Linked DNA regions of Homo sapiens: region 2 is linked to region 1. The links are contacts of gene promoters, found by promoter capture Hi-C in human tissues and cell types (Jung and others, 2019). All regions are on one chromosome and are shown on one strand. The core of a region is centred on a gene start or on the middle of the fragment in contact, and the rest is flanking DNA. Distances in the headings are between cores, read along the strand shown. Region 1 holds the start of FMNL2 (formin like 2). Region 2 overlaps FMNL2 (formin like 2).

Region 1 (7,197 bases), core at 3,963-6,462:
GAAATTTGCACTAACCAGACAGGAATTTTTTACTGCTAGTCGCAGGCCCTTTTTTTCTTCCCAGTTCTAAGCCTATGGAAGCATAATATAAAAGAAAGGCCAGGGGGAGTAGGGAACAGATCCAAATCTCTGCTGAAAGACTAGATTGGTTATTTAATAACTGTATAATTTTAGGCAACTTAGATATCTTTTTCTTTTTTGAGACCTGGTCTTACTTTGTCACCCAGGCTGGAATGCAATGGTATGAACACAGCTCACTTCAGCCTCGACCTCCAGGACTCAAATGATCCTCCCACCTCAGCCTCTTGTGTAGGTGGGACTACAGGTGCAAGCCACCACACCTGGCTAATCTTTTTTTTTCTTTTTTCATAGAGACAGGATCTCACTATGTTGCCCAGGCTGGTCTCGAATTCCTGGGCTCAAGTGATCCTCTCACCTCAGCCTCCCAAAGTGCTGGGATTATAGGGGTGAGCCACTGTGCCCAGCCTAAATAATCATTACTTATGCATCTATAGTATTGCTGATAGCATTAGTTACTGTGAGCATTAAATGAGAACATGTAAAAGGCCTACTCATAGTAGATACTCAGAAAATGTTCCCACTCCTTCCTAAAACAAAATGACCACATTCAATCTCAGGACATGCAGAAAAAAAATGAGAAGGAAATGGACTCAAATTAATCAGATACCAAAGCAGTTCCTGATACCAAATATAATACTGCCCTAAACCATTACTTCCTAATAATTTTAAATCTGTTTGCAGTGCTGCCTGACACCTGATATTGCACAAGATACAGCAGCTAAGACACAGACTTAAAATTGTCCTTTCCTCTGAAACTCAACAAAAGAATTTTAAGGATAGCTCTTCAACAAAGGCATCCAAGGGTGTGCCTTTTAAGTTGTAAACAGTGACTGCAAGCCAAAAATGAGTGAATAATATTATGCAGTGTCTAATGTAGAAACAGGTATTCTCGGACAAAAACCATCAGTTGTTCACCACATCCACCCAGAACCACCTTCTTATCATCATCTTTAAAAATAAAAGACATGGGAGTATTTGTGGATGTGTGTATGTAACCCAGGATGTCCAATCTTTTGGCTTCCCTGGGCCACACTTGGAAGAAGAAGAATTGTCTTGGGCCACACATAAAATACACAAAAACTAACGATAGCCGATGAGCTTAAAAAAAAATCATGAAATAAATCTCATAATGTTTTAAGAAAGTTTATGAATTTGCGTTGGGCCCATGAGGCCCACAGGCAGTGGTTGACAAGCTTGATGTAACCCCCAAAATTAGACAATGGTTAATAAATACAATGGAGGGCCACATGGCTATTACAGATATGAAGAACCCCCAAAAAACACAGGCTAATATTACCTATGAAATATATACATCCTTACATCCTAAAAGAACAAAGATTGAAGTACGTGGCTGACTTTATAATTTATGAAACACTTCCATATAAATTATACATAGGTTAGAGTATAACAGAAACATTGCACATACACACACACAAAGGCATATGCATATATGTGTGTGTGTGTGTGTGTGTGTGTGTGTGTGTATCTCACCTTCCAGCTGTACCTGAAAGGTCAATACAGGGAAGCAAATGGTTTAAATGTATACACTAAGACAGTAATTTTTTCCCTTAAATGTAAGTTTTATAACTATTACTATAATGATACTGAAGATACCTATCCTTGGGAGGATTAAACTCCTAACACTGGGATCCAATTTTTGCTAGTCACTAACTCCATTTTTTTCTATTAAAAAGATTACTTTTCAAAGTTCACCCCTCTAGTCTTAATTCATTAGTCTTTTATTCTCTCATTTCCATTCATACCCACTAATTTTTTATATTCGCACAATTTAACCCATATAAACTGATGGGGAGGGAGGGTATAGTCATTGAATAGATTTGTTCTCTCTTAAGGCTTTCCTAACAAGAAATAAAATGGACTTTTGTCATTTTAATTTTTGTTTACTTCTCTCTGAGGCCTTAAATATTCTAGAGCTGGAAGTTGGGAGGAACTGTTCTCCTAGCTTGAAACAGTCTGTTAATTATTGATGTTAGCCATACTTACAATGAGGTGCTTAGACACTTTTCTATACGGTATTACTATCTGGTTTTCCTCCCAAAACACCCGTATGATCTTTATTATACAAGAAAGTTGAACTGGTATCAATAATGCCAACACAATTTCCATTGCCCTCCACATACATACTTAAAAATCTGCCACTTAAAACTTGTCCTTCAAGATTGATGTCCACAATTAAATGGTTTGAACTGATTTCTTAAGCAACTCATGAAGAAAAGCAAAGTTGAGATTATCACACACACAACTCCAGAAAAAAAAAAAAAACAAGAGAAATCACCAACACTGCGCACTTCTATTGGCCCACGGAGATGATCTGGAAGGTTTCAACTCCTCTCACAGATTGTCAAAGAGCAAGTGGAGCTGACCTGGGACAAGGAACGCATCAATGGTCCAAATGCGTCCCTAGGAAGAGGGTTCCCAAGCTGACCTGGTCCCCCAAAAGCTTTGTCTCTACTCAATAAAAGGTCAGCCTGGTATTGTTTTTGTTTCTTGATTGAGAGGCTTAGAATATTGTAAACAATTTTAAAAGGAATTGCACCCAGTAACTGCGACACACAGTAGTGTAAAAGTAGCCACAACAACCCTGCCCCAAGAAGCTTGGGATGTACAATCATAATTGTCTAAATACTATATTTGCAACTGCTAGCCTTAACAAGAACACAAATCCACCATGTTAATGATGGGACATTATTTTTCTAAAGATTAATTCACACCATGTGTTATTAATCAGCAGGGTAAATGAAAGCTCAAGCAAAAAAAAATGCTATCCTAGTCAAGCAGAACTTAATTGCATTATTGTTATTATTATGGCTGCTGCACTGGTTTCCCTGTGTCACTGGCTCCTCCACCACAAGTATTCAGACACACACACACACACACACACACACACACACAGAGCACCACAGCATGGATGGAAAAACAAAAAAGCCAGAGCCAGGAGGAAAAAAAGCCAGAGCCAGGAGGTAAGAACCATATGTCTAGTAGGAAGAGGGTTTTGAAGAAAAACGTTTGTCTCTGGAAAAGCAGGTCAAGTATGCACCCAGGCCGCCTTGAGAGTTATGCCTAGGCCGTTTCATTTCAGTGTCCCATCTTGCACAACGGTGGGAGCAGCTGTGGGAGATCACAGGAGATGCAAAGCAACACAAGCAACCTCATCTGTCTCCCCGACGGCCACACCAGAGTTTCCAGGTGGCGGGAGAGAGAGCTCAGTTCTCCCAAAGAGCACACAGCTAACCTGCCATCCAGAACATCACTTCCCATACCAAACCATTCCTTTTTCAAGGCCTGAAGGCAGGCAATTTGAACGTCCTGTAGCTGAGCACACCTCAGAAAACCGATTTTTGATCTAGAACTCGAGTCCTCTGCCAAAGTTCTAAGTTTTCATGAAAACAAAAGAAGAAAAGAAAACCCGCAGGCAGGCACAATCGTTGGCTGCCCGGATCACGAGTTTCCCTTGCTGCCTAGTCTTGTGGAGTTTAGAGGTAACCAACTAGGAAAAGAGAAGTGTCCAAGTGTCAGGAGTAGGAATGAGCCCAATCTCGCCTGTGTGTGTCCCTCCCAACATCCCTTAGAAGAGGCTGGGACACTAAAACTGGTAGTCTGGGGGACCAACAGCAGTCCAGATCCTGGCTGGGGCAAGCCGCCACACCCTCTGCAGCTCACAGCACAAGCCTCGGCTGGGAGGGGCCCAGACACTGTCCCAGCAGGAAAGGGAGAAAGAGGGGAGTTTTCAGAGTCCTGGATTTGAGGAGCTGGAAAGCTGGGAGAAGCGGAATGCAGGAGGGAGCGGGGGACCTGGCTGGGCGTGCAAGAGGAGGGGAGGGGTCGCCCGTGCAGTCAGGACAGCTCGCAACACGTCCCCGCAAAACTCCACATTTTTGTGGTTTAAGATTTAAGTCTAGAGGGAACGCGCTGAGGTTCTCCCCGGCCTGGGTTTCAGATGCCCCTGCTCCTCGCCAAGGGCCGGGGCGCCGCACTGCTGTGGGTCTCCGCTTTCCCTTTCGGGGAAGCTCCCCTTGGCCAAGCCGCGACGTGAGCCCTCCAAGTTCGCCTCCGCTCACCGCCCGGCGCGGCGCCCGCGGCCGGCCACATGCGCCCCATCTGCCGGGGACTTCGCAGGTCCCGGGCTGGCCGCCCGAGGGATGGTCCGCAGGGGCTCAGGGTGTTTTGTTTTGTTTTGTTTTGTTTTGTTTTTTTTAAAAAAAAAGCCTAAGCGGCTCGCCACCTCCTCCTCCCAGCCCGCGCCACCTTCTCTTCACGCCCACGCCGCACCTCCCGGGCACACGCGCCGTGAGGTGCCTCTCCAGCCAGACAATGGGTTCGAGGCTGGTTGGGCAGCCGGCCCTGAGCCCCCATCCCCATCCCGGGACCCCGAGAGACTGAGCGCGGGGGACTGCCAGGGGGGTGAAGAGGAGTGCTGGGGGGCCACAAAGGGGAAAGCGGGAGCCTCCCCCTCGGGAATGGAGGCTCGCTCCCGGCACGGGGTGAAGGGGAGGGGCGGGGGTCAGCTGCGCCGCCCGGCCCGGGGCCCCGGGTCCCCGCGCCCGACCGCCGCCGCGCACTTACCAGCACGATGGCAAATCGCTCCTCCAGTTCACCTGGCTCTGGCATCGGCAGCTTCAAAGGCACGTTGTGCGCCCTGAAATCGGTCTGCTGCGAATCCATGCTCCCTGCGTTGCCCATGTCGGCGGCGCGCCGGGGCCGGGGGCTGCTCCGGGCCCCTAGCGTGCGCGTCGGAAATCAGAACAGCTCCCGGCGGTCGGCTGCCGCCCGCAGGCGCGACCTGCCCGGCTCCCCGCCCTCCGCCGCGCCCAGGCGGGTGTGCGGCGCGCACCGCTCCCTAGCAGCGCTCCAAGCCGAGCCGCCCCCCGGCCTCCCTCATGCTCTCCGCCGCCCCAGCGCGGCCCCGGCCTCTTTTCCTCGGGAGGGGTAGTTGGGGCGCTGGGCGCCTATGTGCATGGTGCTCCGCTGGCACACCGCCCCCTGCCAGAGATCGCGGCCCCCGGCGCGTGGTCCCTCCTACTCGGCCTTCTGCCGGGCCCGCGGCCGCCGCTGACACTTCCAGCCCTAGCCGGCCACGGCTGCGCCTGCCTGGCTAGCACCTGGAGCAGACAAATGCAGCTCCGCGCTCCCCTACACAATGCCACCTCTCGCCCGGCGCCCGGCCCCCGCCCCCGGCCCGGCTCCGCCCACTCGCCCCGCGGACTGCCGGGACGCGTAGTTTCTCTCCAAAGTGTCCGCGCGCAGAAACCACGCCTGCTCTAGAGCGCCAGGCCGGGTTGGGACCATTTGCAGCAAAGGCGATCCGTAGTCTCTGGAGATAGCATATTGTCACTTTTGACCCTCCTCACCCCAACAGTGGAATACTTACATCGTGTATATCATGTTGACACTTGGTAGGCGGGTCTGACCATGACGGAATCGAATCAATGAATGAAGGAATGCATGCCTTCTGATTAAAATTCAGAAAATCGTTGCTGTTTTTAAAAGATCTAGTTCAGTAAGGAACTTCGAAAGCACTGGCAAAGTTCTGTTTCATAAACGGGGGGGTGGGTCCATGGGTGCTTGTTTATCGTTCTTTCTTCCATATATATGTTCTTTGGTGTGATTGAAATGTTTTATAAACAGATGTATAATTTATGGGTATATATAGTCAGACCCTAGGAGCTAGGTAAGGATTCAATTCAATTTAAAAAAAAAACCTGTCAAACACCTATTATGTATGGGATATTGTGTTCCTTGGTGGGAGAAAAAAGAGATTTGCCCTGCGCTGGAATACTTGCCAATCTAGTGAAGGAAAAAATGTACACACCCATATTTCATGTGAGATGGATATAATGATAGAGTGTTCTGGGAGACTTTGGGATGATCTTTGGCTGCAGCTCTCTTATTCCTTCACAGCAGTCTTGAGCAAGGTGTCTTACAGAAAAGATTGGACCTGACTCTGTCCTCTGGGGTGTATTTCAGACTATAACTACCCGTTCTGAAACCTCGGAAATAGAAATAGCCTTATAAGAGACTTTAGCCAACTGCTCATGTGAATGTTAAGGGCATACATCTGGTTGACTTGTGGCTGAACTTCTGCAGTTAGTCCTTTCTTAGTTTAAAGCAGTGTTTCTTAATCCTAGATGTGTATCAGATTCGCTTGGGAAGCTTTTTGTTAAAACTACACACACCTTGGGCTCTGCGTATTATCAGAATCTCCCTAAGCTGAGAGCCGAAGCCTGGGCCGGTGTATTTTCAACAAGCTCCCCAGGTGATTTTGATATGCAGGTAAGGTTGTTATCCTTTTAGTAAATAGCAAGTGTTTCTGGACAAGGTAGTACACCAAGATTCAATCAAGGACATTTCATTCATCTTTATAAACTTCAAGATACTTTAAACATAGTAGACGCCCAAGAACTATTTGTGGAATTGACAAGTGACTTTTTCCAAAAGCATATGACACAAATACACACAAATACATCATGTATGTTCTATTAAACCACTTCTAGTCTTTAAAGAATGGAGACAGTATAAATAAATTCAACTTAAAATTCTGAATAACTGTAACCTGTATTTCTAAAGCAGTGTTGTATCAAAGTTAATAGCAAATGTGTTACTGATCTGAGAGAAAAGCAGGGCGGTTTAGATACACACACACTCCAAACTAATGAAAATGAGAGAGAAAGAAAGCAGTTCGGACCAGGTGAAACATTTCTGACCCACAAATGTATTTATTTCCTTGTAATCTCTAGACATATACTTTGGATCTGATTGACTCACAAAATCAGCCCACCCAGAGGGTTGCCCATCTGGATAAAAAAGGCTGGAATTCTTTTCTGCAGTTGAGAAAGCCTTTTTGATTACATTTATGTCTCCCTGCGGCTATATTTCTGCCAGTAACCAAGACCTTTTTCTCCCCTTACGTCTTATCACATCTAGTCTCTCTCATAAGCTCACACTTCGAGGGAAGCCAAGGAAAAAGTGTGCAAATCTATGAACCAAAAGAACTTTCCTGCCATTTCAATGTTTGGAATCTCTAATATTTGGTTGTTATTTGTGATTATTAAGAGGAGAAATAAACACTCCATAGGCTTGTACAATTTCTATAAGAAT
Region 2 (6,806 bases), core at 2,671-5,170, 49 kb before region 1:
CTGTTCTCAAGATAGTGAGTTCTCATGAGATCTGATGGTTTCGTAAGGGCTTTTCTCCCATTCCGTTCATACTTCTCCTTGCTGCCGACACGTGAAGAAGGACGCGTTTGCTTCCCCTTCCACCATGATTGTAAATTTCCTGAGGCCTCCCCAGCCATGCTGAACTGTGAGTCAATTAAACCTCTTCCTTTATAAATACCCAGTCTAACGTATGTCTTTATTAGCAATGTGAGAACAGACCAATACAATGGTAAAGATAACACTTCTTTGATTGCTTTTCTTGAGTCATTTAAACTGATCCTTAGTACACAAGTATTTTCCTCCTCTGTGAGAGCTAACCTCAATTATGTCTCTTCAGATCTAAACTACATTACCCGGAAGTACAAAATAAACAGAGCAAGAATTTCTAAGAATCTTTGTCATCTAAGAACAGGTGATAAAGAAGAATCTTCCTAATTCTTATTATATTAGCCTAATTATCAGCAGGACAATGAAGCCTTTCAACAAAGGACAGAAAAAACTGTGGAAAGAAAACGTGCAGCCAAGCGCAGTGGCCCACACCTGTAATCCCAGTGCTTCGGTAGGTTGAGTCAAGAGGATTGTGTGAGCCCAGGAGATCAAGACCAGCCTGGGCAACATAGTGAGACACCACCTCTACAAAAAAAAAAAAAATTTTTTTTTTAATTAGCCAGGTGTGATGACACCTAGCTACTCAGGAGGCTGAGGCAGGAGGATGGCTTGAGTCCAAAAGTTTGAGGCTGCAGTCAGCTATCATTGCACTACTGCACTCTAGCCCGTATGACAGAGAGACCCCAACTCCAATTCCCACCAAAAAAAAAGAAAAAACACACACATTTAAAAAACAACCAGACATGGAGTTCAAACTCAAATGTGGAAATGAACTGAACCTCAGCTACTGAATGCAGTATAAGCAGGGCTTGATAAGTCACAACTTTCCCCTTGATAAGTCATAATTATTTTATAACTTTTATATTTCATACATTTATAGAAAAAAATTAAATTTGTTTTGTGACTGATAGTTCTTAATTACAACATATTAGTTTTAATCTAATCACACTCCGTACTCAACAAGTCAGCAGGCAATTAAATCTAACAAACATTTATCAAAGGCCTACTACAAAGCAAGGCCCTGGGCTGGTGTCTGCCATTAAGAAAAGCATCTGTCTACTGTGGAAACAGGCTAGCCACTCATCCAATAGGGATAACACAAAATTATCATTATCAGCCACAATGTGGTCTGTTAAACTAAAACTTTACTGGGAGCTTGGCAACAGCACACTATAGATAACAGTTGGGCTTTGGTTTTTAACCCAGATCTTCTACAGTATTTATATACTGTGGTTGCCTACAAAGCAATGAAGAGCTCATTTCTACTTCCCAGGAATGGTTTAATCCCAAGACAGGCCACACTTTTTCATGAAATATCTATGAACCAGTCCTCCCTCATGACCTTTTTCTTTTAAATCATCATTCCTCAAGCGTCTTGGAGGAATGGTGAAGGGCAAGGGGAATCTGGGAAGAAAAAACAGCAAACTTTGCCCAGGGGAGTCTCCTAGACTCCTAAAGCAACAAAGGTTTTCTCTACCTTTGTTGAGATAAATTAAAACCATTTTGAAAGCAGAATCTACTTCTTCCGGCATTGCTACTTAACATATTTAATTAGACTATGGTGAATAACACATAAATGGGGAGGCGGGATGCCAAAAGACAGTGATGACTTGTTTCTGAGTTTATCCAGGTCAATGAAAAACACCTCTGTGTAAGAAATCTCCAGGCCTCAAGGTAATAACATCAAATCAGACAGACAATGAATTGCTGAAAATGTAGGGTCATGAAAGTCCTAGAGGGAAAACAGATAGACACATATAAGGTGAAAAGCATGAAAATCAAAGTAAAATAACAAGCAAAGAAAGCTGCTAATGAAAAAGTTGTCAGCTAAAGCCTAGAGTTTGAATGAGTTAATGAATGGTCAAAGGACTTACCACAGGCACTGACTCCTCCAAGTGAAGAGGTATTTAAAATCACATAACTTATTAACTGCTATGGTAAAACATTCTCAGGGAGAAGATGACAAGACAAGTGGCAACAGCAGAAATTCCCTTTAAAAAATCAGGGTCTCTATAAGAGCTTTACATTGAATGAGGTCTGGACCACACTCCCACTTACAGATCAAGAATCCAAGTGTGCACCCGGGATTACAGTGAAAGGATAAGACTCTGTACTTTGTAATTCTCCCTTTCACTGAGAGCACTGGGGATTGCATTCTACAATAGCCCCCTTGAAGGTGCTGGGAATAAATCTCAGCAGGGTATGCTAGGAGAAAGAGAAGCTCATTTCATTTCCTCATTTGCCCAAAACTAACCTATCTTCTATTGTCACCAACTATGGAACCTTTCCTGATACTCTTATGTTTAAAGCTCCCAAGAAAGGCAGGGAACCTGATGCAGAAGCACAGATGTTGTCTGCAGGACTGAGTATATCCCTCTTAGACTTAGGAAGCAGACAGCATATCCAGGAGAGGTGAAAGAAAGATAAATCAAGGCATTGCTGACAGCCTTTCATTACAATTTGGCAGCCAACCTGCTCAAGCATTTTCACATGGGTAAGTTGATCATCTGAAAAAAAATCCATGGCATAAGAACACAATTTAAGCCTTCAGAGCAAACATTTTGATAGTTCTCATAAGTCATTTAAATAAAAACTTCATGAACAAACCACAAAGCATGTGACTAAAACCCCAATTAATAGTAGAAAGCAGTACACACTGACAGATTTCTATGGCAAACTTCTGCAGAGACCAAATCAGTTGAATGCAACTTTGCCCCTCAAGCAGATATACTTTTGCCTTATCTTACCTTTTCTCAGCCAAGATTTCCCCAGCTCCCTAATTCAAACTCACCAGGACAGTGAGCATTATATGACCATCTGGTCGACAACATATTACACATTCATAGGGCATGGTTCTAATCACGGCACAGTTTAAACCACCACCATAGATCTCAGCAAGGTCCTCCTAAATGGAAGAATTTTATATTTTGCCTTTTAAATGGTTTTTATTGGAAGCATATTTGTGAGAACACTAAGACGTAAAAGGCCTCTGAGCCTGAGCTCATTTTCCCATCCCCAGCCTCCCTCCCTACAAACTGCCTTCTATGAATGGGATTCTATTTCATCTTTACTCTCTGCAAGAGAATGTACCTGCCAACTGATGTCAAGAACAAATCACTTCATCCCCAGTTTCGATGCTGCTGCATTCTTGGGCACTTGTGTTCTTTTAGCACCAAAAAGAGTTGCTTCATGGTTCAAGGGTCACTGTTAACTCTTTTAACAAATAGGCATTAACAGAATACAGGAGCAATCCCACACTTTGTGGGGAGGGTGTCTCCCTGGAGCCTCTAGATTAAAATTCTCATTACTAAAGTCACCAAGGAGTTAGACAAAGATAGGGAGCATGGCCTCGGAGTTTCTTGCTAAAAAAGAATTCTTCCTCTAATACATTTATGGATATTAGCTACACTAACATGGGTTAGTTTACTAGGTTAGTTGATTACTGTGTTAGGATGAGGAGACAAAGTGTCATTGAAGAAACAAGAAACCAAATCTAGAGTGTAGCTATTTTTTCTTACTTTAATGAAGCAGCAGAGAGTTTGAAAAAGATTTTAGAAACGTGTGCAGGCTCTGGACCAGGGAAGGCCAATCTTAGCTGAAAATATAATGGCCCCCACCAGAAGCCCTTGCATTCCAAAATTCAGATACAAGCTTCCTAAATCCCAAGATGCCCCAGGATGAAGGCGCACTCAAGGGACCCAGGCAGGCTGCCTCCACTGAACCGAGGAGAAGAGTCCACCTTTCAAGCACGATGTTTGAAGGATGCTCTTTCACTCAGGAAGCCTGAGGGAAGGCTTTGCTTCTGTCCTGGGAAACCAATCACTGATCAAGAGTACTCTCCTGCCCTCTCACTAATGTCAGCCATCAAATGGACCATATCTCCCCACCAGCTGAGTTCTACCCACAGTCATTCCATGGCCTAGCCCCTATCCTGGCCAGCAATATCGATGTCTACACCCCAATGCCCAGGCCCTACCTCAACATCCCAAACTTCTGCTAGACCACAGGGGCTGGTAATCCAGACTCTGGAGTGAGGACAAGTCATGAGAAAAATAAATTTAGGAAAATGTGTAAGTACAACTTAAGTAACAAACAGAAAATGGACTTTGGAGTCAGCCAATCCTTGTTTCCAACCTGAGTACTGCCACTATCACAAAACTTTGAGCAAATTATTTTACTCCTCAGAATCAGTTTCCTCACCTGGAAAATAAAGATAAAATGCCTACTTTGCAGAGCTGCTACGAAAACTTAAAAAGATAAATATACACAAAGTAAGCATTCACAAAAATAGAAATCAATACCCTATTTCTTTATTATATGAAAGGGTAATTCCAAATGCATATAAGCCAAGAGTGAGATTTTTACTAGACATAGTTCCTACAGTACAACTCTAGAAATGTAAGGGATGAGATCTGTATAACATATGGTAGCTCCCCAGATGTAGAAAAATATGCACATACAGTTTTACAAATTCCTAGTTTATGATGTCAAAATTCTCTAAATAAAACAGATGCTAATCATCAAACTGATGATGACTTCTCCTCATTTCTTTGCCATAAATAAAACCCTTGAAGACTAAATAAATGCCTTAACTTATTTCCTCTAAGTTTGGGGATGGCTAGGGTTTCCTCAATGGCTTTCTTTGGTTTCCAGGGTTAGCTGCTGTGGTAATTTTCAAAGAGCACCAAGTTTGCTATAACCATTCTGGATATATAATAACAGTAAGATATTATTATAATTATGCCATTATTAATAGCAGCTACCTTTTATGAAATATTTTTTGGTTTTTTGATTTGAAACAGGGTCTTATTATGTTGCCCAGGCTGGTCTCGAACTCCTGTGTTCAAACTATCATCCCATCTCAGCCTCCCTAGTAGCTAGGACTACAGACATGCACCACCACGCCAGGTTACTCTTACGGAACATTTTAAGCTTACAACATGCTACATGAAGACAATTAGCATTACAATAAACAATTAAACTCCAAAAAAGAAAACTAAATTTATCTTATAAAAGGAAATCACAAAACCCAAAGTTAGAGCCTAATACACTATTGCCCCCTAAACTACAAAAAAAAAAAAAAAAAAAAAGGATTAACGGAAGTGTCCACACCTAAAAAGTTTCCACTAGATTCCCAGAGCCCTCTTGCTTTATCCTCCTTCCAGTGTTTCCAAGGGAGGTAAATTTAATATCCGCATCTCTCCCAGAAATTAAAACTACCTCTCTCTCTGCCCTATTTGTTGGTCTCTCCCTCACCACACTCCTATTTTTTTAAGCCAGTAACTTAGTCGTTTATGATCATTATCAAGTATTATATACTGAACATAATTGTATGTGTTCTCCATTTGCAGCACAGTAGGTTTGTTTACACCAACATCACTACAAACACGTGGGTAATGCATTGCCCTATGTTAAGGCAGCTACAATGTCACTGGATGATAGGAATTCTCAGCTCTATTATAATCTTGTGAGACCAGTTTGTTGTCCGTTTTTGATGGAAATGTTATGTGGCTCATGACTGTATTATTTATTGAATATTATGGACACACTTCTATTTTTTCCCCAGCTTTATTGAGGTATGACTGACAAGAATTATATATATAATAAAGGTGTATGTGATTTTTTTATATAAGTTTATATTGTGAAATGATTACCACAATCAAGCTAATTAGCATTATCTATCACCTCACATCGTTTCCTTTCTTGGTGTGGGTGTGTATGGTGAGACCACTTGAGATCTACTCTCATTGCAAATTTCAAGTCCATAATACATTAAGAGCCCTAAGAATGCAGTTAAAAGTTGAAGCCAAAAGTGACTCTTTAGCCTCTATTAGCATCAGGATCTTTGTGGAGGCAAGTGGACCCTCTCTCAGCCCTTCTTGAGATCTGCTTTTCTCACCAGGAAGCACTGAAAATTAGAAAAGACCTCCCACACTTGATTATCAAAAACCTCCCAGAATCTTCTACTGAAGAAGCCAGGCTCTCTCACATCAGAACACCCAGAGGAAACAAAGACACATGCGCTTTCCTTAATGACGCCTCTCCTTTGACCCAATGAAGAGAAATCTACCACAGAAGCAAATGTAATTGGCTGGCACAAAAACTTCCGCACAAAAATGGAGCACAATCTACGAGTGAGTTGGTTCTTTGGGTACCATTAATGTGTGTTTCTATTAAGTATGTAACTTTCAAAAGTATATTTACCTCCTATTAAGTGCTTCAAAAAGTGAAACAACATGGTTAAAACCGGTATGTAAAGATTCTAGGCCAGGCATGGTGGCTCACTCCTGTAATCCCAGCACTTTGGGAGGCTGAGGCGGGCAAATCACTTGAACCCAGAAGTTCAAGACCTGCCTGGGCAACATGGTGAAACCCCATCTCTACAAAAAATACAAAAATTAGCTGGGTGTGATGATGCCTGCTTGTAGTTCCAGCCTCCTCAGGAGGCTGAGGTGGGCAGATCTATTGAGCCTGGCTGCAGTGAGCCGTGATTGTGCTACTGTACTCCAGCCTGGGCTGGAGGAGATCCTATCTCAAAAAGAAAAAAAAAAAAGTTCTGCTTTGCTGTTTGTTATGCTAACTAATCAAGAGTTATCGAGTTTCTTAAAGCAGTACATTTAAAGCATTACTGCATTTTAATTTCTTTTTAAAAACTGCCACAGCAACTGCGTTTAGTA

The links. The method cuts DNA at HindIII sites, captures the fragments that hold promoters and counts their contacts. A contact is called where the count stands out against the background at its distance.
Region 2: a fragment that was not itself captured here is called in contact with the fragment with the promoter of FMNL2 in region 1 in 3 of the 25 tissues and cell types used here (aorta, dorsolateral prefrontal cortex and hippocampus).

The regions. Positions count from the first base shown.
Region 1 is chr2:152,333,189-152,340,385 of GRCh38, reverse strand. FMNL2 (formin like 2) reads right to left here and starts at 5,212. Exons shown (of 26, transcript NM_052905.4): 1 at 4,666-5,212. The coding sequence starts at 4,782. RefSeq lists silencers at 4,153-4,252, 4,763-5,412. The HindIII fragment of the contact is 5,547 bases long and covers 1,909-7,197 here.
Region 2 is chr2:152,381,687-152,388,492 of GRCh38, reverse strand. The region is part of intron 1 of FMNL2 (formin like 2); the gene reads right to left. Among named protein-coding and RNA genes, the nearest start is that of FMNL2, 50 kb to the right of the region's middle. The HindIII fragment of the contact is 5,401 bases long and covers 1,220-6,620 here.